7 separate regions of the Homo sapiens genome follow, and all the other regions are linked to region 4. Evidence: promoter capture Hi-C in 16 types of primary human blood cells and fetal thymus (Javierre and others, 2016). All regions are on one chromosome and are shown on one strand. The core of a region is centred on a gene start or on the middle of the fragment in contact, and the rest is flanking DNA. Distances in the headings are between cores, read along the strand shown.

Region 1 (2,963 bases), core at 180-2,679, 370 kb before region 4:
CAGCTATAATTTTTACCAACTTAATGGTATATCACATTATGATTTTCAATATATCTTTATATGTTTACTGAACACATGTCCCCTTTTACTTGATTTTTCTGTGTAGAGTGAAACACAATTTCAAACAGTATCCCTAGAATAACCAGGTTCCCCCCATTCATTGCATCATCTCCTTTCCACATTGAAAAACATTATCTCTGTCACATATCAAAGTAATATGTATGTGTAGGTCTCTTTCTGAGCTCTCTAAAAGTCCATTGATCATGCTGTCTCTTCCTATGCCAACATCACAATATCTTAATTCCTACATATTAATAATCAGACCCCATTCCTGCTTTTCTGATTCAAAAGTGTCTTGGCTATTCATCTTATCAAATTCCATGGAAAACCCTGTTTTGACTGGAATTCCATTAAATCTACAAGTTAATGAGTGAAAAATCAACATCTTCACAATATTGTCTTCCTGTCCATGACATGATATACCTGCTTATTTAGATCCTCTTCATAATTCCTTTGTGTAGAGGTCTTGAATTTTTTTGGTTAATTTATTCCTAGACATAAATGTGACATTCTCTGACTCTACTATAAATGATGTCATAGTTACATTTCTAGACGTTTGCTGATGACATACAGAAATGCAATTGAGTTTTGTGTCTTCATCTTATTTTCAGGTACCTTGGTAAACTCTATTATTTCTAATAAGTTGTAGTTTTGAGGGGTTTCTATGCAAAAACATGATCATATTTGTAAATAAGTTTTATTGCCTCCTTTCCAAACATTTTGCTTGTATAATTTATTTTTGTCATACTGTACTTATGGATCCTTCAAGAAAATATTAAATATAAGTGGTGCTAGTGAGCATCCTTCTCTAGTTTCTTTTTTTTTTTTTAACTAGGCAAAGGCTTTATCTTTGTTTTAAACTATTTTCTGGCTAATTAATTGCCAATAAATAACTGTATATAATCAATAATTAAAAAGCAGTGTCCAAGGGTCTTGGAATTTATAGACTTACATTTTATCATATATAAAACAAAAATTTTAAAAGCAGTTAAAATTCTTGAAATTGTATTATTTTTTAGAAGCTGAATCAATTCAGTTTGCCTCACTGTTGGAAGCTTCATCAAAATTCTGAACAAGATCACCACTTCCCCAATAGTAAGTGGTACTTTTCCATCCAGCTTCTGCCAGTTTCCTTAAGCTTGTTGACACCAAGCTGGTTTAAGACACTGGGTGGCATTTCTGTTAGCTGCTTTGTCTCAGCATGTCTGGTAATGGTCAAAGTGTTCGCTGCTAGAGATGTCTGAACACTGGGATTGTTAATGAAGATCACCATTCCTTGGTTTGCAGACATACCTCTTTAGTATCAGAGATATTGCCTATTTCTACTTTCTTTCAGGAAAACTGAAGATTTTTTTTATCATCTGTTTTAACAGATAATGTTTGCTGTATCATCTGAGGGCAGTTCCTTTTTACCAGTGCACAATTGTGCTTGAAATCTGGCAAGTTTTTCATGGTTTGTGAGGGCTTTTTCATTTTATAATGAAAACGAAAGTGGAATTTCGTGAGTGGAAATTAAACTTCGTGGGGTATTGGGGTTGGCACTAGAGGTCTCAGGCAGACCAGCTGCAAGGCCAGTTTCTGACTTTAAAGGGAAAGCTTCTAACATTAGTTAATTCAGAATAATGTTTGTTCTATTTTTTTTTTTTGTAATAAAATTAAGGCTTTTCCCTTCTGTTCCTAATTTACTAATCATTTTTTAAAAATCATTGAATTTTATCAAATTCTCCATTGAGGTTATTCTCTTTTCATCTGGTAATGTGCTTAGTTACATACATATGGATTTTCTAATATGAAACTCTCCTAGCATACCTGGGATAATAAATCTAACTTGGATATGTTGTATCATCTTTGTTATATACACAATCAAATCTGATTTGCTAATATTTTGTTGAGAATTTTTAATGTATATCCTTGAATGAAACAGTCCTGTAATATATTTTCTTATATTGTTTCTAGTTGTCCAGGTCATGTTGGTTCCAAAGAATAAGAGAGAATTCCTATCAGTTGGCCTTAATAAACAAATGGAATTACGAATAGCCCCCGGAAATCTAAGCTATAAGAAAGTTGAAGAACTTCAGAATTGGCTACTTCTAACTCACTCTGGCCCTCAAAATTTAAAACATAGATACTTATGTCCCATAGCAGATTCTGGACTTTTACCAAGCACCTGAAACGATTCTGATAAAGATCATCTACTGACTATGCTTTTGAAAAACATTACCGTGGTAGGGAAGAGTTCTTGGCTTTCATTTGCTCTTGCAGCAATCCAGAGCTGAGACTAGCTCCACAGCACTACATGGTGGAGATTTTAGTGAAAGAGTTGAAGACGCAAAATGCCCTTGCTTCCCTATAGCATCTCAGTAGGATGCCCATGGTTTGCAGATGCCCTGGTTTATGCCTATTATTCCAGCATATGAGTAATGTTCCCCTTTTCATTTAAAAAAAAAAAAGTCTCAATTTGGATGTTCTTTTGGAAGCCTTCATGTTATAGTTTCTTTACTTCTTTATGGGAGGACACGCCTCAGGCTACCTCGGACTTATAAGACTCCTCCTCTCCTACTTGAATTCATTTCCCCAGCTCTAAATGCTAAGTGAAAAGCAGAGTTTGAGAGGGTATGGAATGTGGAAAACTTATGTTTAAACAAGGCTAAATGTCCTTGCATTTCATGGTATTCAGTTAGTTCACCAGATGCAAAATCTATGTAGGAATTTGGGCCAAAGCCCTAGTTATTAATATTATAAAATTTTATTTTGCCTGTAAAAGTCTCTTATAGCCATGGTGAGCTAGAAGAATTCTGGAGTTTAGACCACAGAAGGAAAATAAGATCTTCCTACTACAACTAACACATAATAATAAATAAAATACGTAAATCCTAGATTTTACTCTTCCAGCGTACGCAGGT
Region 2 (2,744 bases), core at 118-2,617, 320 kb before region 4:
TGTTTTTATGTGTTTATAGACCTATTCTTTATGTCTTTATAGACCTATTCTTTATGTCTTTATAGACCTATTCTTACATATTTACATATTTGTATCTGTAGAAAATATGAAGATATATGCTTCATTTCTATACTTATATAAATATCTAAAACATAATGTGTTACTGTATTTATATAAGTAATATCTTACTATATCAGTGATATATGAAACTTATTTTCCCACAGAAAAATGTATTTTGGAGAACATTTCACATTAGTACATATGAAACCATGTTATTCTTTTAGTTGTTGCAGATTCATAGGATGAGTGTAGTTTATTTAGCGTCTGAGGAACATGGCAGTTGTTTCTATTTTTCCCATGTCTTCAAGAAATGCTGCAGTGAACATCCTAATGAATTTCATCATTAGAAACAATATTGCCCATATCACAATGATTTCTTTCACTTGATAACAAAGTTGTGACTATGAAAGTTTAGTAATAGTAAAATGTTGAAAATCTTTTATTACAAACATTACTCAATTTCTGATAATATTGGCATGAAGAGATTGGCAGTTCCCCTCTGCAAAAAAGCAAATATAAAACTGGACAGCATCATCAAAGGCAGTCTTTTAAGGGTGCTGAAAATTGCCCAAAGGCCGTTATAAAAATGAGGCACATTTATTCTGGCAAAACTGCTAGAGCTTGAGGTAAGAACAGTGTGACTCTGTGGCCTTCTTGCCTGGGGCTGTCCCCATGTACCTCCCCAGGGCCCCAGCTCAGTTGGTGATAACCGAAGCTTGATCAGTGCTATGGCCTAGGCGTTTGTGTCCCTCCCAGATTCATATGCTAAAACCCTAATTCCCAGTGGGATGGTATTTGGAGGTGGAGTCTTTGGGGAGGTGATTAGGGTTAGACTAGGTCATGAGGGTGGAGCCCCCATCTTGGCAGGAATGCCCTTATCAGAAGCTGAAAGGACCAGAGCTCACTGTCTCTGCCAAGTTAGGGTATAGTGTGCTTATTTCATCTTACTGAAATTCTTTTTAAGTTTTATTTTCTACCAGAATTTAGTAAAACTTTGAGATGGTTTGGGGCCACTATTACTTCAAATATTTTTTTCTGTCTCTCTCTTTCCTTTCTGTCTGAAACTCCCATTACATGTGTGTTGGAATGTTTGACATTGTCCCACATGTCTCCAAGGCTTTGTTCCCTATTCTTACAAATCTCTTTTCTTTCTCTTGTTGGAATACTTTTTATTGATCTTCACATTTTCTCTGCCATCTTAAATCTGTTGAGCCTATCCAATGAAATTTTCATTTCAAATACTGTGCTTTTCAAATCTAAAATCTCTACTTGGTTCTTTTTGAGTTTGCTTCTTTACTGAGGTTCTCTATTTATTGTGTCCTGTTAGCATCTTGTTCACATATTTTTCTTTTTTCCTTTTTTTTTTTTTTTTTTCTTTTCTTGAAAGAAACAGGGTCTTTACTGCCCAGGCTAGACTGATGTGGGTATTCACAGGTGTGATCATAGTCTTGAACTACCGGGCTCAAGTAATCCTCCCACCTCAGCCTCCTGTGTAGCTGGGACTACAGGCACATGTCACAATGCCCAGACTGTATTTTCCTTTAATTCTTTCAATATATTCTAAATAGCCAATTTGAAGTCTTCATTAAATCCAACACTGAGCCCAGTCAGAGTCCGTTTTATTGACTATTTTTCCCGATGATGACTCACATTTTCCTGGTATTTCTTTTCTTTGCCATGTCTAGCAGTTTGGGGTTGAATATGGAACCCTTAACAGTAACTCTAGATTTATTATTTTTTTTTCAGAGTTTGAGTTTTTAAATAATTGGTCTAGACTTAAACTGCAGAATCTGTTTCCCTCCAAGGTATGCTGTCAGGACATCCGTTTAATATTTTAATTCTTATTTTTACATTTTAGTCTGACTCTCTTGGGGTTGTACCTATGTCTGTAAAGCTTAATGATGGACCAATATTGTGCTCCAACAGCCATTTGAGCCAATGTTGTGGACAAATCAGCAACGGCTGTGTTCAAAAACCTCAAGCTTTTAAGACTTCACTCTCAGTGAGTTGAGCTGTGATGGACTGGGAAATGCATTCAAAGTTGCAGCCAGTTGTCAAGTCCCCATCAGCTTTCACTTTTTTCCAGGCTCTCCTGGGTCTCTATGTGGAGAGCTCATCTTAACCCTTCCATGGCTCTCTCATTTCTAGGATTTCCCTATTAAATTTCTGCTGGTCCACAATGTCAAATTAGCACAGCAGCAGGTTTTCTCTATTTGTTTCCAACCAAATCCACCACTTTTCACCAGCAAAGTCACAGGTTTAGTTTGTGTGTCTTCTCTTTCTTCCCTAGCCTGAATCAAGTCACTCCACAACTTTTGGGCAGCAAAGCTGCTGGTTTTCTCAGCTAGTCCTAAGCTCACTGTCTCAGTTAATTCAGGCTGCTATGACAAAAATATAGCCTGGGTAGCTTAAATGACAGAAATTTATTTCTCACAGGTCTGAAGGCTGGGAAGTCCAAGATCAAGGTGCTGGCTCACTTCCTGGTTTACAGAGGGATGCCTTCTTACTGTATTAGTCTGTTCCCATGCTGGTATGACCCAAGACTGGGTAATTTATGAAGAAAAGAGGTTTAATTGACTCACAGTTCCACATGGCTCCCCAGCCTCAGGAAACTTACAATCATGGTGGAAGGCACCTCTTCACAGGGCAGCAGGAAAGAGAATGAGTGGCAGCAGGGAAAATAC
Region 3 (2,803 bases), core at 2-2,501, 410 kb before region 4:
ATATATATATATATATATATATATATACACACACACACACACATACATAATATATGGCAACTCGAACATTTAAAAAATGAACTGCTATCTATGTACATAAAACTTCAGGATTGCCTTTTTCATGTTTAGTTAAGGTTCATTACTACAAAATTATTGGCTCTCTAGCCTGTGATTTCTGGATAATGGAGTACTGTTTCAGAAGTTACAAAAGTAAAATTTAAGTAGATTATTATTTTGAGCAATTTTCAAAATTGTTATCTTTAGTTTGCCAATTCAAAATAATTTTACCTAACTCTATGGCTATCCACCTTGAAAATCAACTCCAGTCACTGGGATCATGACACTTGTTATACATAAAAATAAGTACCATTTAATAATTTTTAAACCAAGGATCATTTTTTATTGTCATTGGGATATTATGGTCAAAGCAGTTAGTATCTGGACATAATCTATAATGTCACATGGTTTTATTGCTAACTTGGGTTATTATCTAAATTTGCCTTAATAATCTATTTGTTGCTTTAAAGGAAACTTCTTAAGAACTACTATAAATTTATTGGATTCTAGAATCTAGGATTTAGGCTACTAATGCTGTAGGCATACTGGGTTTCTCTTATAATTTCTATTTCAGAAAGCTATGTTCAGCAATTGTATAGTTAGAGTTAGCCAAAATAAACAAAGTCCTGATGTATTTGACATGTGATATTACCAAATATCACACAGAAATGGAGACTGCATAATAAAGGCATGGCTGTAATGAAAGTGAAAATTCTACTTTTTAGGGCCATCACATTTATTTCACTAAGCTATGGTTAAATGACTTATCCAGGCACATCACCTCTATGGGTATTTGTACATTTGAAAATGAAAAAATATATATATAGTCTTAGGTTGTGTACAGTCATGCCCTGAGTGCTGAAATGTGGACACTGACCTATCCACAAGGAGCCCTCAGGCACATTAATACGTTGGCACATCATGTTTCCCAAAAGCACATGCATGTGTGTGTCTATTTCAACTCTTAACAATTGCTCAACACCACTCTAAACCATTTTCGCTTCCATAAAGCTAATTATCGCAGATCTTCCCAAAAGAGAAGTTCACATTTCCTTGATCACAGCTATACTCTCATTACCTAGGAAGAACCCTGGGACCTCTGGGGCTGTTTGCCCCCGCAGAGCACTGCTCATTCCTGCAGATTCATTTGGGACTTGGGTTTCAAGTTCAATGATTCTTCATTGAGATACAATGAACTTATCTAACTGTATTCTTGTTAGTACGGGCATCTAGACTGAAATGAACTAAACTGCATCATTTCATTTTATATTAGGAGAAATCTAATGTGCATTAATTAAGTAGTCAATCATGAATACCATTTATAATAGAAATAATTCCTTTAAGTATATTTTCTAAGTAATACATTTTATATCACATAAGGCTAATATACATGATGTAAAAGTCATCTATTGTACCAAGATGATTGAAATATTTTGCAGATAAACTTCTTGTGCTGCTATAATTATCCCAAAGCTGTTTAAAGAGGCTCCATGCTGCAGCATGAAAGTACATTAGAGAATACAGCACATTTCCTGAGTGAAGAACTGAAATTTCTCTTAAAATTTCAAGTGTGTGTTGAAACATTGTCATAGGGCATCACCTTGATACTGTGCTTTAATTCATGTTGCTTTGAGAAGCCAAGAATTTGGTGTAAACACATGTAGTTTGAAAGTTTCCACTGTTATTAAAATAGTATAATCCATTTTGTCACCAATTCCCTGTCCTAGGACAAGAAACGTGAATTTGTGTTCTGGCCATGAAATCTAGAATCAAAAAAAGAAAAAAAAAAAAAAAAAGAAAAACCTATAGATTTCCAACTTTAACAATATGACAACTTGGGTGTTTTGTTTTATTGTGAAAAAGATTTTAAACAATGTGTCAATACTGCCTATTGTCATATATTTTCTTTTCCTTCAAAGTCCTCCCAGCTGGCGTTCCAAATGACAACTTTGGTGAGGGAAAAAACAAATTCAGCAGCCAGGTGTCTGGCACCTAACACCAGACAAAGATGACCATCAATATTTAAACACCTAATCCTTTAAAGTGTGAATAATGTTTACATGAAAAGCTAGCAACAATACAGAATGTGGTTACCTTAATTTAATAATGAGCTGCATCTCTGAGTATGTTTTAGGAAGAATTTCTATTATCCAAGAATCCTAAAGGAAGATATTAACTGAGGTGAATGTGGGAATTTGTATAAGTCAATGCTTCTAAAGGAGAACTTCTTTCGGTAATCATTAAACAAAAAGTACACTTCTTGGCTAGGTGCAGTGGCTCATGCTTGTAATCTCAGCACTTTGGGAGGCCAAGGTGGGTGGATCACTTGAGGTCAGGAGCTCGAGACCACCCTGGCCAACATGGTGAAACCCCATCTGTACTAAAAATACAAAAATTAGCCGGACATGGTGGCACCCAACTGTAATCTCAATTACTTGGGAGGCTGAGGCACGAGAGTCGCATGAACCCAGGAGGCAGAGGTTGCAGCGGGCTGAGATCGCGCCACTGTACTCCAGCATGGGTGACAGAGAGAGACTCCATCTCAAAACAAACAAACAAAAAAACAAAGTACATTTTTTAACAGATATGTAAAAAATATACAAAACATTTTATATATATTATATAATACATAATATACATATTATATAATGTATATATTTTGTGTGTATGTATACAAAATAGCTGACAATTATTTCCCAATTTTTTAAGTTGTTCAATGGGTTTGGTTCTCAACACAACAGACAAA
Region 4 (2,894 bases), core at 169-2,668:
CCCATTTTGTGTAGAGTGTGCCCTGTACAAACATTTACCTAGAGCTGACTAAGTGCCTGATACTGTCCTGCCCTGGGATAGAGCGAAGGAAAAGAAACAATCCCTTTCCCTAACATCCCCAGGATCTCCTGGTGTGCAGGCACTGGCGCTCCCGGAATCGGTCCCGCGGTCCCACCCACCTCTGCCTGGTGATGAGGTTGATGTAGTGTCGCAGCGCCGAGTAGTATCTGGCCATGTCCTCCGCTGGTGCGTCCTCGCCCGGGTTGTCCGGCTTGGAGGGGTACGCCTCGGCCAGCGCACCCAGGCACACGAGCAGGGACAGGGCGAGGGTCAGTCCGGACAGCCCCAGTCGCTTGTTACCTAGCATCTGCAGGCACAGAAGGCTCAACGGACGGGCTTGGGGATTCAGAGCACCCACGCGCAGCACCTCCCTCCTCTGCCCCCCGCGCTCCTCCTCCTGCTACCACACGCGACCCCCAATCCGCTCTCGTCCCAGTCCCGCAGAGAGAACCCAGGAGTGGCTAGCACCACCTTGCGGGCTCCGGGCGCCGTCCGGTCGGGACCTGCCCCTCTGCTCCACCTGAAAACTTCGCGCAACTTCGTTCGAAGTCTCAGGGACCAAGAAGCGCGCGGCGAGAGTGCAAGGTGGGGGCCCCGCCAGTTTAGCATTCAAAACCGAATTGGAAGTTCTTCCTGCTGGGTCACTTTTCTCCCTTCTTGCCCAAACTCTTGTCTGGGAAGAAAAGTTTCTTCTCTGTTACTTCTGGTCTGCCTAGCTTCAGGGGATCAACGCTGACAGCAGAGATCACCTCGGGGTGACGACTGCGGTGGGGAAGGGGAAAGAGAATTGCTCCCTGGGCCAGAATTGCTCCAAAGAGATTTGGAGCCCAAGAATCCAGGGAGGTGGCAGGGCGCGGGGCTCTAGAGCTCCAGGGATTCCTCACTCGATGGCGCTGCCGGGGAAACCTTCCTACCGCGCACCGCTTCCTGGGCCTCAAGGCGGCGACCCGCAGGGAGACCGCCAGCTGCCTTGGGATAGCGGTCCCGGGTTCTCCCTCCATATCTGCTAAAAGGTAACTCAGAAGAACCGCCCAGCGGGAAGGGCCCGGGAGAAGGGCCGTGGACAATCAGAGGGGAGCAGAGGAACAAGTGGAATTTAGCCGCCAAGAGGGCTGGTCCGCGTCGGGGCGCGGAGCCGGCATAGTCCGCTGGGGAGTGGAGCGCGATCATCCCAGGGCCCCAGGGCTCCACAGAGCGGGAGGCTGCGTCTCTAGCAAGTTCGCGGGCGCCCCGTTCGCTCCCACCCCTAGACAGACGGGTCGTAGCACTCACGGTGGCTGGCGCGCGGGCGTGGCTGGGCGGCAAGTACTATGCTGTCGGGCGAGCGTCTCCGAGGGGTGAGAGCCAGCGGATGGGGTGCAGAGAGCGGGTCGCGACAGGGCTTTTATGGAGCTTCCTCGCCGCGGCAGGAGGGGCCTCGGGCAGTCACGCTTGGGTGACTCCCACCCGCCACTTCCCGCCCCTGAGTGGCGGGGGGAGGGGGCTGGAACCGCAGCCGCACGAGTGTCGACTTAGGGAGCCACCCACACCCCAACCCTCCCGCCCCAGGCACTGCCTGAAGAAGCGGGGCCTGGGACCGCGTGAGCGAGGCAGCGCACTCCGAGCGCGCTGGACAACACCAAAGCCCAAGTATCTGCCCTCGGGCAGTGCCCGATCCCTGCTTTCCTTCTTTCCTTCTTTCCTTCACGCCCCGTCTAGTCCTGCCAGAGATAGGAGCAGCCCAGACGATTCTTGTCTCCTGCCAACAGGACTACCAACCCACTGGGTGCCGGAGTAGGAAGCACCTGAATCCTCTTTGTGGTGGGGCATCTCCACGACTAGCGCGGCATCCTCGCCGGGCACAACTGCGCGCTGTTGGAGTGAGGCAACTGGGCGCACAGATTTTTCCTGTACTTAGAACAAGTCGGAGGCAGCTGCCGGAAGTCTCCGGCTAGAGGGTCCCAAAGCTGCGCTCCCCACCCCACCCCCGCCCGTGGTTTCAGGGGCTTCTGCCCCTTCTCTCAGCTGGTTTTTCTAGATCAGCCTTCCTCAAGTACTCGCTCAGACGCAGCGAGCCAGGCTCGGTCGAGACATGAGTGTGGCGACTCAAAATTCCCCAGAGGGGGAACACGGTAAACCTATTCCCCCAGTTTGCTGAAAAAGAGCCACGCTTCCAGCTTCTAGAGACTCTTTTAAGCTCAATTTTAAAAATATATATTTTTTCTTTTTTGGTCCAAAGTGACGGTGGTTAAATGAACAACAGTTTCTGTCTTATTTACTAACCCTTGTATAGTCCTATGTACGTTCAATTAACGTTGAGAATGTGGGTTCTGATTAAGATGAAACATGTTAAAAACGATGAACATTAATTTGCTCATCGCGTTAAACCTGTTGAATGAATATGCAAGATACAGAAACTATTATTACAGGATCAAGATTTTATGCAGTGGACTGAGATCTGAAAGTTCCGTGAATGAATGCTCCTGTATCTTTCTAAATAAAATGGCATTTTATTTCTAAATGAAATATAAGTCTGAATCTTTCTAAATAAAAAGGCATGTTGGGAAATTAAAGCATTAAGTTCCATGTTATTTTAATGCTAAAAGGACAAGTGATTCTGTTAAACTGACACTTAGTTTTTGTGCTGTTCCAACAGCATTGAATTAAATATCAAAAACCGTGAAGCAAACAATCCTTTGCATGTATGTGTTTGTGTGTTTGTGGGATCAAACTATAATTTTGGAGACCAACATCCCTTTCACTTGGCAACTGCTTCTCTTTCTGTATTACACAAACATATGCTGAGGACACAAAAATCAAGGCTCTCAGAGTTGCTCGGGGGTGCTTACAAGACA
Region 5 (2,817 bases), core at 258-2,757, 280 kb before region 4:
TAAAAGCATCATTTATGTTTTCAAATATTTATCTTTGCATTCTTTTTACCGCCACTCAGCCCCATCCCCTTCTTTCTTGCAGGTAAAATCCAGGGTGATGTGTACAGGAATGCCTGTAGCACTTGGCATAGTACTGCACATAGTAGCTGCTCATTTATTGAAACAGATAAACCTGTTAGTTGGTAGACTTCTAAAATTAAATAAAATTAAGTGAAAAATGTTGCTAATTACAATTGAACACTTGTTCCAGAATATGCAAGTTACAGATGAAAAGCTCTTAGAAAGACAATCAGATTTCAAGCAGTGACCTTAATTGAGCTTGACTTTATCTCACCAGGAGCCAGCATCTATATGTAATTAACCCTTTTAGATACTCATTTAAAATCGGCCTCTAAATTCTACCTCTCCCATTATATATATGAACTGAAAAAAAAATCCTTCTACTCAAGTATCAAAAAGAAGATTAAAAAGACATAGGAAAACAGGAAAAACCTTTCTTAAAAATTTGTAAAAATATATAGTGTCAGTATAGTGTGTACCTTTCCCCATTGAAAACACAGACAGGCACGAAGTCCTGGAGGGCAGTGGAGGTCTTCTGGAAGAATCTTCTGGCATGACAGGCAAAAAGGGTGTCAATGGTGATTAAACATAAAAACAAAGGGTCAAACTGTGAGGCCGATGCTCCTCCAAAGGACTGAGGAGAAGTCGTGAGGGTAAGAGCAAGTCATTAAGATGCATAGTAGGCTCTTAAGACATTTTTGGTAAATAAATGAATGAAAGATGGATAGGATAAGGGACGTGGAAGCAATGATGGAAGTCGGGGTGTATGTGTATGAGTCGGGGCAGCCATGGCAAGCTGTTTTGGCTGTTAACAATCTGGGAAGTTAATGGCCCATTTTAAAGCAATGCCATCTTCATGCTAGGAAGTACAGGGCATTTAGTTTTTCCTTAAAATATCAGCTGTTTATAAATATGAAAGACCAAGTCTTTTTAAAAAATCCTGCTTTGGTAATAATAGCGAATGACAACTATCTATTGAGCTCATGCCTGTGTGGCAGACACTGGTGTATAACCTTCATATGGAGCATCCCATGGGGATCATTACTATTACTCCCATTTTTCAGATGAGAAAACAAGTGAAGAGGAGTTAATGGCTCAGGCTTCAGAACCAGGAAGTGTTTAAAGAAGCTCTGCTGCAAAACTCCTGCTCATTCCCACACTTCATACACAGAGTGCTTTGTAACTTTCAGGTCAATTCAACTGGAATGAATTATAGTACGAGTTACTACAATTAGAGGTTCTCTGTAGCATGTTATTTAACTCAGATTCACCACCACGATCTACAGACTTACTGTATGTGTGTATTTTAACAATGTAGCATTTGTGGAAAGGCTATCTATTTTGCATTAGATTCTGGTGGGACTACTAATCACCATATCCTCCCCATATTCTTAAATTACAAGAGTGGCCATGTGACCCAGGCCTGGCCAATAAGAGTGCCCCATCCCTTCAGCCATAGGGATTAGTGCAAGAAGTAGACATGTTACCTAAATAAAGAAAATTTTGGATTTTTCTGTACTGCAGTAGGAAGAAAGATAATTTGTTTTTTTTTTCTCTTTTCAAATCAACACTTTGAGAATCTCAAAAAAGGGAAGATTTAGTCATGCCTGAGGCCAGCCTTAATTCTAGACTTTTCTGGTTACATAAATTCATGAGACCTTTTTAAATTTAAGATAATTTGAGTTGAGTTTCCATCACTTGTCACCAATAGAGTTCTGACTTATAGATGATTTATTTGGGGCAGAAGCTATACCTTTATGAAATGCTAAGTCACAGTCTAATCAATACAAGTTGACGATCCATTATCTGAAATGCTTGGGACCAAAAGTGTTTCAGATTTCAGATTTTTTGGGATTTGGGAATATTTGCAAATACGTAATGAGATATCTTGGGGATGGGACCCAAGTCTGAACATGAAATTTATTTATGTTTCACATACACCTTATACACATAGTCTGAGGTAATTTTATATGATATTTAAAATAATTTTATGCATAAAATAACATTTGTGTTAAGTACTTATATGTGGAATTTTTCACTTGTAGCATCATGTTGGCATTGAGGAAGTTTCAGATTTTCAGATTAGGGATGCTCAACCTGTATATTATTAAATGATATAGTTAGGTAAATAATTATGAAGACACTGACATATTGTAGGTACTTAATATTTATTTGATTAATTCTATTTTTAAATTAAGAGTAATAATTATAATTTCTGTCATTCAAAGTCAGTATTATAATTCTCACAAGTTGAATACCTAAGATATATTAAGTATATCATTGCAACCCTATACCAATTGACCAATGAGACAGATCCATTTGTATGTATCAGAATTAAATCATAATAGTATTTATATAGTGCAAGTAATACGGTACAAAAGAAGAGTTTAGAATCAGATAACTCTAAGTTCTACTAGATTTACCACGTATGAGCTGAGTAACCTTAGGAATGTTTTTCAGTATATAAGAATCTTTCTTTTCTCAAATGCAAAATGAGTATAATAGGCCTACCTTGCAGGGTGTTTTAAGAATTATTAATTAAACCTATCAAATGCCTGATATAGTTGCTTTTTCAGAGAAGAGTGTAATTACTATTATTATTTTCACAAAAGTGTAGTTGTAGGACAGCAAATAGTCATTTGCTAATTTACTTTGGTGCATAATTATAAGCTAAGAATGCTCTTAATTAAATTATCTTTCCTCCCAAAAAGGACAAAGTTTCCATTTTATCTACTATTGCTAAGCCTTGATCTGGAA
Region 6 (3,051 bases), core at 388-2,887, 390 kb before region 4:
CAAGTTACTGGCATTTCTATATAAATTATAAGATAAGCTTCCAATTGCTGCAGAAAAGGTAGCTAGAATTCAATATAATCCCTCTTAAAATTCTAGCTACCTTTTCTGCAGAAACTGGAAGCTTATCTTATAATTTATATAGAAATGTCAGGAACCCAGAAGAGCCAAAACAAGCTGAAAAAGAAAGAACAAGTTGGGTTCACAATTCCTGGTTTTGAAACTTAATACAAATATACAGTAATCGAGACAATGTGGGACTGGCATAAGGACAGACATCTAGGTTAATGGAACAGAACTGAGGGTTTATAAATAAATCTTGACATTTACAATCAATTGATTTTCAAAAAGGGTGGCAAGACAATCCACTGGAGGAAAGAACTATTCTTTTTGACAAATTGTGTTGTGACAACTGGATAAGTGCAAGCAAAAGAATAAAGTTGGAACCCCCTCCTCACATTTGACACAAAAATGAACACAAAATTGATCATATAATCTGCATGTAAGAGTCAGTAGTATAAACTCTTAAAATAAAATACAGGAGTAAAATTTTGTGGCCTTGGGTTAGGGAAAGCCTTGATATGGTACCATACTTGATACGATATGAAAAGCATGAGCAACAAAAGACATATAAATTTGGACTTCATCAAAATGAAAAACTTTTGTATATCAAAGGACACCATCAAAAACACGAGAAGTCAACAAAGAATGAGAGAAAATATTAATACGTGCAAATCATATCTAACAAGGAACCTGTACCCAGAATATAATATGACCTCCTCTTACAGCTTAAGAAAAGGACAAATAACCTAACTGAAAAATGGGCAACCAGTTTGAACAGACATTCCTCCAAAGAAAATATATAAATGGCAAATATGTACATGAAAAGTTGTTTGACATGATCAGACATTAGGGAAATGCAAATGAGAACCAAAATGAGATACAACTTTACACCCACTAGGATGACTACAATCAAAAAGCCAGATGACAAATGTTGGTGAGGATGTAGAGAAACTGGAAACTTCATATGCTGCTGGGATTGTGAAGGGTATATACACAGCTGCTGTGGAAAACAGTGTGGAAGTTCTTCTAAAGGCTAAACATACAGTCATCATATAACCTACAAATTCCATTCCAAGGTATATACCCAAGAGAAACAGGCATATGTCCACACAAATACCTGTATACAAATGCTGAGTGTAGCATTATTCACAATAGCTAAAAATAAAACAGTCCAAATGTCCATCAACTGATGAATATATAAATAAAATGTGGTATAGCCATATAATAATCACTTAGCAAGGAAAAGAAAATAAGTACTGATAAATGCTACAATGCAGATGAGATCTGACATGTTAAGAAGCCAGTCACAAAACACCACATATTGTATAACTCCAGTATATAAAATGTCCAAAATAAGCAAATCTATTTTGACAGAAAGATTCATGATTGCTCCTGGCAGCAGGGGGTGAGGAAGTTGGTGGGAAATGGGTACAGAGATTCTTTTGGCGATGATGAAGACGTTGTAACAGCTTTTGAATTTTACAATCCAGAATTCTATTCTCTGCTAATTAGTCAAATAAAGGGCAGAAAATATACATTTTAAAACACAAAGATGCAGACATTACATTCCACATACAAGAGGATGTACCCCAGCAAAACAAGGTGATAAACCAAGAAAGAGAAAGAATGGGATCCAGGAACAACAGCTTCAACCCAGGATAACAACAAAGGGAACTACTCCAGTGTTAACAGCTGGGCAGCCAGAGAGACAGCATGTAGTCCTCATTGAAGCAGAAAGACAGAGGGTTCTGAGACAGAGGTCTCCAGGAAAAAAAAAAAGAACCTGACTTACTGGATAAACAAGTCTTTAGTTTAAAAAACAACAAAAAACTGTATACACATATATATATAAAATCAGGTAGTATAAAGAAAAACAGAACTCCAGAGATTCCTGGGTCACAGAAGGGGAAAGGGCTGTTCAAGAAAGTGAAATTGAACTAACTGAAAATACAGCTATCTTTATATTGGAAGGACAGTCAGGAAGTCAACAGATAAGGCCTAAACTGCATAAAGCAGGAAACAGCAGACTAAAGACATTATTAAGAAATATGGAACACAACCAAAAGAAATAGCAAAAACAATGAAAAGTGACTGTTTTTCATAAGTGAGGCAGGGGAAGAGAAGGGGTTATTTTTTTCCCCATTATATGTCTTTAAGAACTACTTGCTAAAAATATTGGGCACATATGAATTTGATAAAAGCGAAAAACTTTTTACTTCACAAGTGCAGCTTTAACATACGTTGATTACAGTGAAGTTTTTGTTCTGTTAACCACTTTAGTAGGATTTGTCTAAATTTAGTGATTTACAATGCCTGCAGTAGAATCAGAAGATTTACACTGAAGGGATTATAAGTAGCACAGGGGGGCAATGACAAGGCTATTTCCCTAACTTTTAAGAATTTTAGCAATAAGAGTACTCACTGAGAATTAAACCCAAAATATACTGGACAAAACCAGGGAAACTCTAAAATTCAATTAAAAGAGATAGGGTTAAAGTTAGCCTAGGATTTGACTCAAAATAGCTTAAAGGCATTAATATACCTAAAGGAATGCCATGTTAAAAGGGGGCTTGGTCAGAAATAGAAGCACAGCAATGGGAATGAAAGCAATGTTAGCTTATCTCCTGCTTTCTTCAAGGGAGAGAACATCTAAGTTCACAAGTAAAGATCCACGTATTTCAAAAACAAAGACAAATGTTTATTAGTCCCTACAGTCAGAGACAAATGTGTATTAGTCATTACAGTAAATCACTAACATCATCCAATTCCTTGATCTAATTCCATTCTCATCAAGCATACTTCTGACATGATTATTTAACTTTCTATGTAAATATGCAAATAGAGAAATGAATGCAAAGACCATAAAATGAGTGCTTGGTTCACTTAATGGTTATACTTCTCATCAGTACTATTTTATTCTATACATCAGACTCTGTAACCTTAATGAATGCTGCCTGCAGTAAAAGATGAATCACTCTTATGTGCTATCAA
Region 7 (2,733 bases), core at 41-2,540, 420 kb before region 4:
GGGGAGAATGACGCTCCATGGGGTAGGGGTCGGAGACTGAAGAGTGAGGCAGTCAGGGGCTTGGCATTTTTCTTTCATTGTAAGCACAGAAGCCCTGTTGACTACTAAGAATGGCTCATCAGCCGCGAGGATGGAGAACCCGTTCTGCATCTGTTTTGTTATATTCTGGGCTTCATTGTCAAGACAAGCAATGCTTTGTCAGCCTTGCAAAATGCTCTCTTGGAGGCTCTTTATCCACATGGCATGGACTGCATGGTGCCAAAGAGGAAGAGGGGCCATGCCCAGGATGTGCCTGCAGCAATTCCTTTTGCTCCTCACAGCGTATTGTGCTTTAGAAAGCTGGTTTCTTTTGTCGGGGATGTGGGGGCGCAGCATATAGGAGGAGATGGGCAAGGAAAAGGAGAAACAAATAGGTGAGAGCTTAGCACAAAGAGCTAGGAACCGCTCCGTGTGCGCGCTGGCTTGGAGGGTAAGCACAGAAGCCCTGGTGACTACATCTGTGGAGCTTCGATGAGTCCCAAACCAGGATGCTTTTGTAGCAAAAATGTCCGTATTTGAAGAAATGACAACAAAGGCCCAATTTTAATATAAGGCTTTCCTATCTTGGCTTCCTTGAGATGGATAAGTGGGTGCAATTTTCAGCTGCCACTTGAAGGATTTTGTCATTGTGGGTTAGAACCACAGCAAAATGGCCCTGCAGCCACTGGGTAGCAGAAGGCAGTCCCGTGCTGCAGCTTCCTTCTGTCCTGCCCACAGGCCCACCCTTCGAGTTGGCCATTCTGGTCAGCAGGGGTGCAGTGGGAGCTGGGTGTGCGACTGGACCGACCAGGACAGCTTCTCTCTTCAGGCTGGGACTGGTAAAGACAGTTGTGTGTATAGCAGAGTTTTGAAATATGTTGGTTACTGATGTTCTGTGTTCCTCTGCGTGGGGCTTTATACAACTGCTAGTTGGAATCGTCCATCCTCATGGGTGGTACATTGATGTATTAGTGTGCATCCCTGCATACGAAACCTTTATCAAATCTTTAAAAATAAAATCTCCACTAGACTTAATTTACAAGAAGCTTCTGAGTATCTTAAAAACAAACAAACAAACAAAAAAACCAAAAAACAAAGAAAGGAAAAGAGATTCTAAGGGGAGAGGCCCCTAAGCATCCTGCAGAGGCAATAGCTTCGGGGACTCAGTGCTCAGCTTGAGGACTCATGAAGAAGCAAAGGATAGAGAAAGAATAGCTGTGCTTGCCATGAAAATAGGGTGCCAGCCCCTTTAAAAATGGGCATTAAATATTAAAGGATAGAAAATCTGCAATGTACTACAAGAAAGGACGTGAAAAATAATGTATTTTGGAATTTGTATGGCTCTAAAGCATTGTAAAAGCACTGACTTGTTTAGTAATTCAGCTTTGATAATTTACTTCTAGAGAAGTCATGCTAAAGAAGAATTTAAATAACTTTTCCAGAAAATAATTGATTAGACTTAATGTTTAGTGAGTCATCAGAGAAGAGTGAAGCTTGAAATACAAAACTTGGCTTCCCTCTTTCTCTCTCTCTCCTCCCTCCCTTTGGTTATTGAAAAATATGCAGGGTGGCTTGTAACTTGATGTTTATTTCTGAGTTCCATGACTGACTATGCAGCTGGGAATATCCATGAAAGAACTGATGACGATTAGGTATAAAAAGCAGGAGTTGCTGTCCGACGTCGTGAGATGTGCATCGCAGTCATGAGACTTGGGTGTGCTTTGTTTTCACAGCGACCCTGCTCCTGGAGAGGAATTTCCATCCATTTGCGGAGCTGCCTGAGCCACAACAGACAGCTTTGAGTGACATCTTCCAGGCGGTCCTATTTGATGATGAACTACTCATGGTCCTGGAACCAGTGGTGAGCCCTGAGACATCTCAAGGCAGTGTTTTCACTGGGGTTTTCTGGAACAGGGGAGGAGGCAGGATGGAATTGTGTTAAAGGTTCCCCCGCCTCCTTTTCTCCCTACAGCTGTCTCTTTTCTGACTCTTGGGTCCTGCGTTTTCTAAGTGCAGACAGGTAGCTGGCATCGGGTGGAGGGAGGTGTTAATTTCCTAGGGCTGCCTCAACAAACCTGAGGGCTTAAAAAACCAGGAATTTATTCTCTCATAGTTTTGGAGCCCAAAAGTCCAAAGTCTAGGTGTCTGCAGGGCCACACTTCCCCCAGAGGATCTAGGAGAGAATTCTGCTGCCTTGTCTCCTTCCAGCTGCGGATGGCTCCTAGTGTTCCTGGCTCATGGCAGCAGCACTCCAGCCTCTGCTCTGTCTCCATGTGGGCTTCCCCTCTGTGTGTGTGTGTGTGTCTTCTCCTTTACTGTCTGTTATAAAGACACCATCATTGGATTTAGGGCCCACCCCAATCTAGGATGATCTCATTTTGATTTCCTTACTTTAATTACATCTGCAAAGACTAAGGTCACGTTCTTAGGTTCCAGGTAACATATGTTGGTGGGCCACTACTCAGACTACTGCAAGGGGGTCGTGTGGTGGAATCTATAAAGTCAGCCTGTTCCATTTAGAACAGAGAAATAAATAGGCTTTTGCACTGTTGTGTTTTGCAGCAGAAGGATATCCTGGGGAGGTCAAGTTCCTTAACTCTTAGTTGTACAAATGGTGAGAGCCACACAAGCTGCCAACCCTCCAGCCACCCAGATTCTGTGTCCTCCCTTTCTTAAGGCTGAGGCTTTATAAACCTGATTTTGACTACAGTTTTG

What was found. The method cuts DNA at HindIII sites, captures the fragments that hold promoters and counts their contacts. A CHiCAGO score of 5 or more calls a contact.
Region 1: a contact is called between a fragment that was not itself captured here and the fragment with the promoter of NPY in region 4, in 7 of 17 cell types (M0 macrophages, M1 macrophages, M2 macrophages and 4 more). The highest score is 9.1, in M0 macrophages.
Region 2: a fragment that was not itself captured here is called in contact with the fragment with the promoter of NPY in region 4 in 2 of 17 cell types (erythroblasts and naive CD4 T cells); the score reaches 5.8 in erythroblasts.
Region 3: a fragment that was not itself captured here is called in contact with the fragment with the promoter of NPY in region 4 in 1 of 17 cell types (naive B cells); the score reaches 5.3 in naive B cells.
Region 5: a fragment that was not itself captured here is called in contact with the fragment with the promoter of NPY in region 4 in 1 of 17 cell types (megakaryocytes); the score reaches 5.0 in megakaryocytes.
Region 6: a fragment that was not itself captured here is called in contact with the fragment with the promoter of NPY in region 4 in 12 of 17 cell types (M0 macrophages, megakaryocytes, M2 macrophages and 9 more); the score reaches 12.6 in M0 macrophages.
Region 7: a contact is called between a fragment that was not itself captured here and the fragment with the promoter of NPY in region 4, in 1 of 17 cell types (megakaryocytes). The highest score is 5.4, in megakaryocytes.

The regions. Positions count from the first base shown.
Region 1 is chr7:24,652,137-24,655,099 of GRCh38, reverse strand. All of the region lies in intron 5 of PALS2 (protein associated with LIN7 2, MAGUK p55 family member), which reads right to left. Among named protein-coding and RNA genes, the nearest start is that of PALS2, 80 kb to the right of the region's middle. The HindIII fragment of the contact is 458 bases long and covers 1,201-1,658 here.
Region 2 is chr7:24,602,910-24,605,653 of GRCh38, reverse strand. All of the region lies in intron 1 of PALS2 (protein associated with LIN7 2, MAGUK p55 family member), which reads right to left. Among named protein-coding and RNA genes, the nearest start is that of PALS2, 31 kb to the right of the region's middle. The HindIII fragment of the contact is 1,179 bases long and covers 778-1,956 here.
Region 3 is chr7:24,688,630-24,691,432 of GRCh38, reverse strand. It overlaps PALS2 (protein associated with LIN7 2, MAGUK p55 family member), which reads right to left. Exons shown (of 12, transcript NM_001303037.2): 12 at 1-2,803. Among named protein-coding and RNA genes, the nearest start is that of GSDME, 67 kb to the left of the region's middle. The HindIII fragment of the contact is 6,755 bases long and covers 1-2,803 here.
Region 4 is chr7:24,282,714-24,285,607 of GRCh38, reverse strand. NPY (neuropeptide Y) reads right to left here and starts at 1,418. Exons shown (of 4, transcript NM_000905.4): 1 at 1,333-1,418; 2 at 180-367. The coding sequence starts at 367. All of the region lies in intron 2 of LOC107986777 (a long non-coding RNA gene), which reads left to right. The HindIII fragment of the contact is 8,579 bases long and covers 1-2,894 here.
Region 5 is chr7:24,565,125-24,567,941 of GRCh38, reverse strand. No RefSeq gene overlaps it. Among named protein-coding and RNA genes, the nearest start is that of PALS2, 6.9 kb to the left of the region's middle. The HindIII fragment of the contact is 4,178 bases long and covers 1-2,817 here.
Region 6 is chr7:24,669,125-24,672,175 of GRCh38, reverse strand. The region is part of intron 9 of PALS2 (protein associated with LIN7 2, MAGUK p55 family member); the gene reads right to left. Among named protein-coding and RNA genes, the nearest start is that of GSDME, 87 kb to the left of the region's middle. The HindIII fragment of the contact is 3,027 bases long and covers 124-3,051 here.
Region 7 is chr7:24,707,273-24,710,005 of GRCh38, reverse strand. GSDME (gasdermin E) reads left to right here. Exons shown (of 10, transcript NM_001127453.2): 7 at 1,752-1,879. Among named protein-coding and RNA genes, the nearest start is that of GSDME, 49 kb to the left of the region's middle. The HindIII fragment of the contact is 447 bases long and covers 1,067-1,513 here.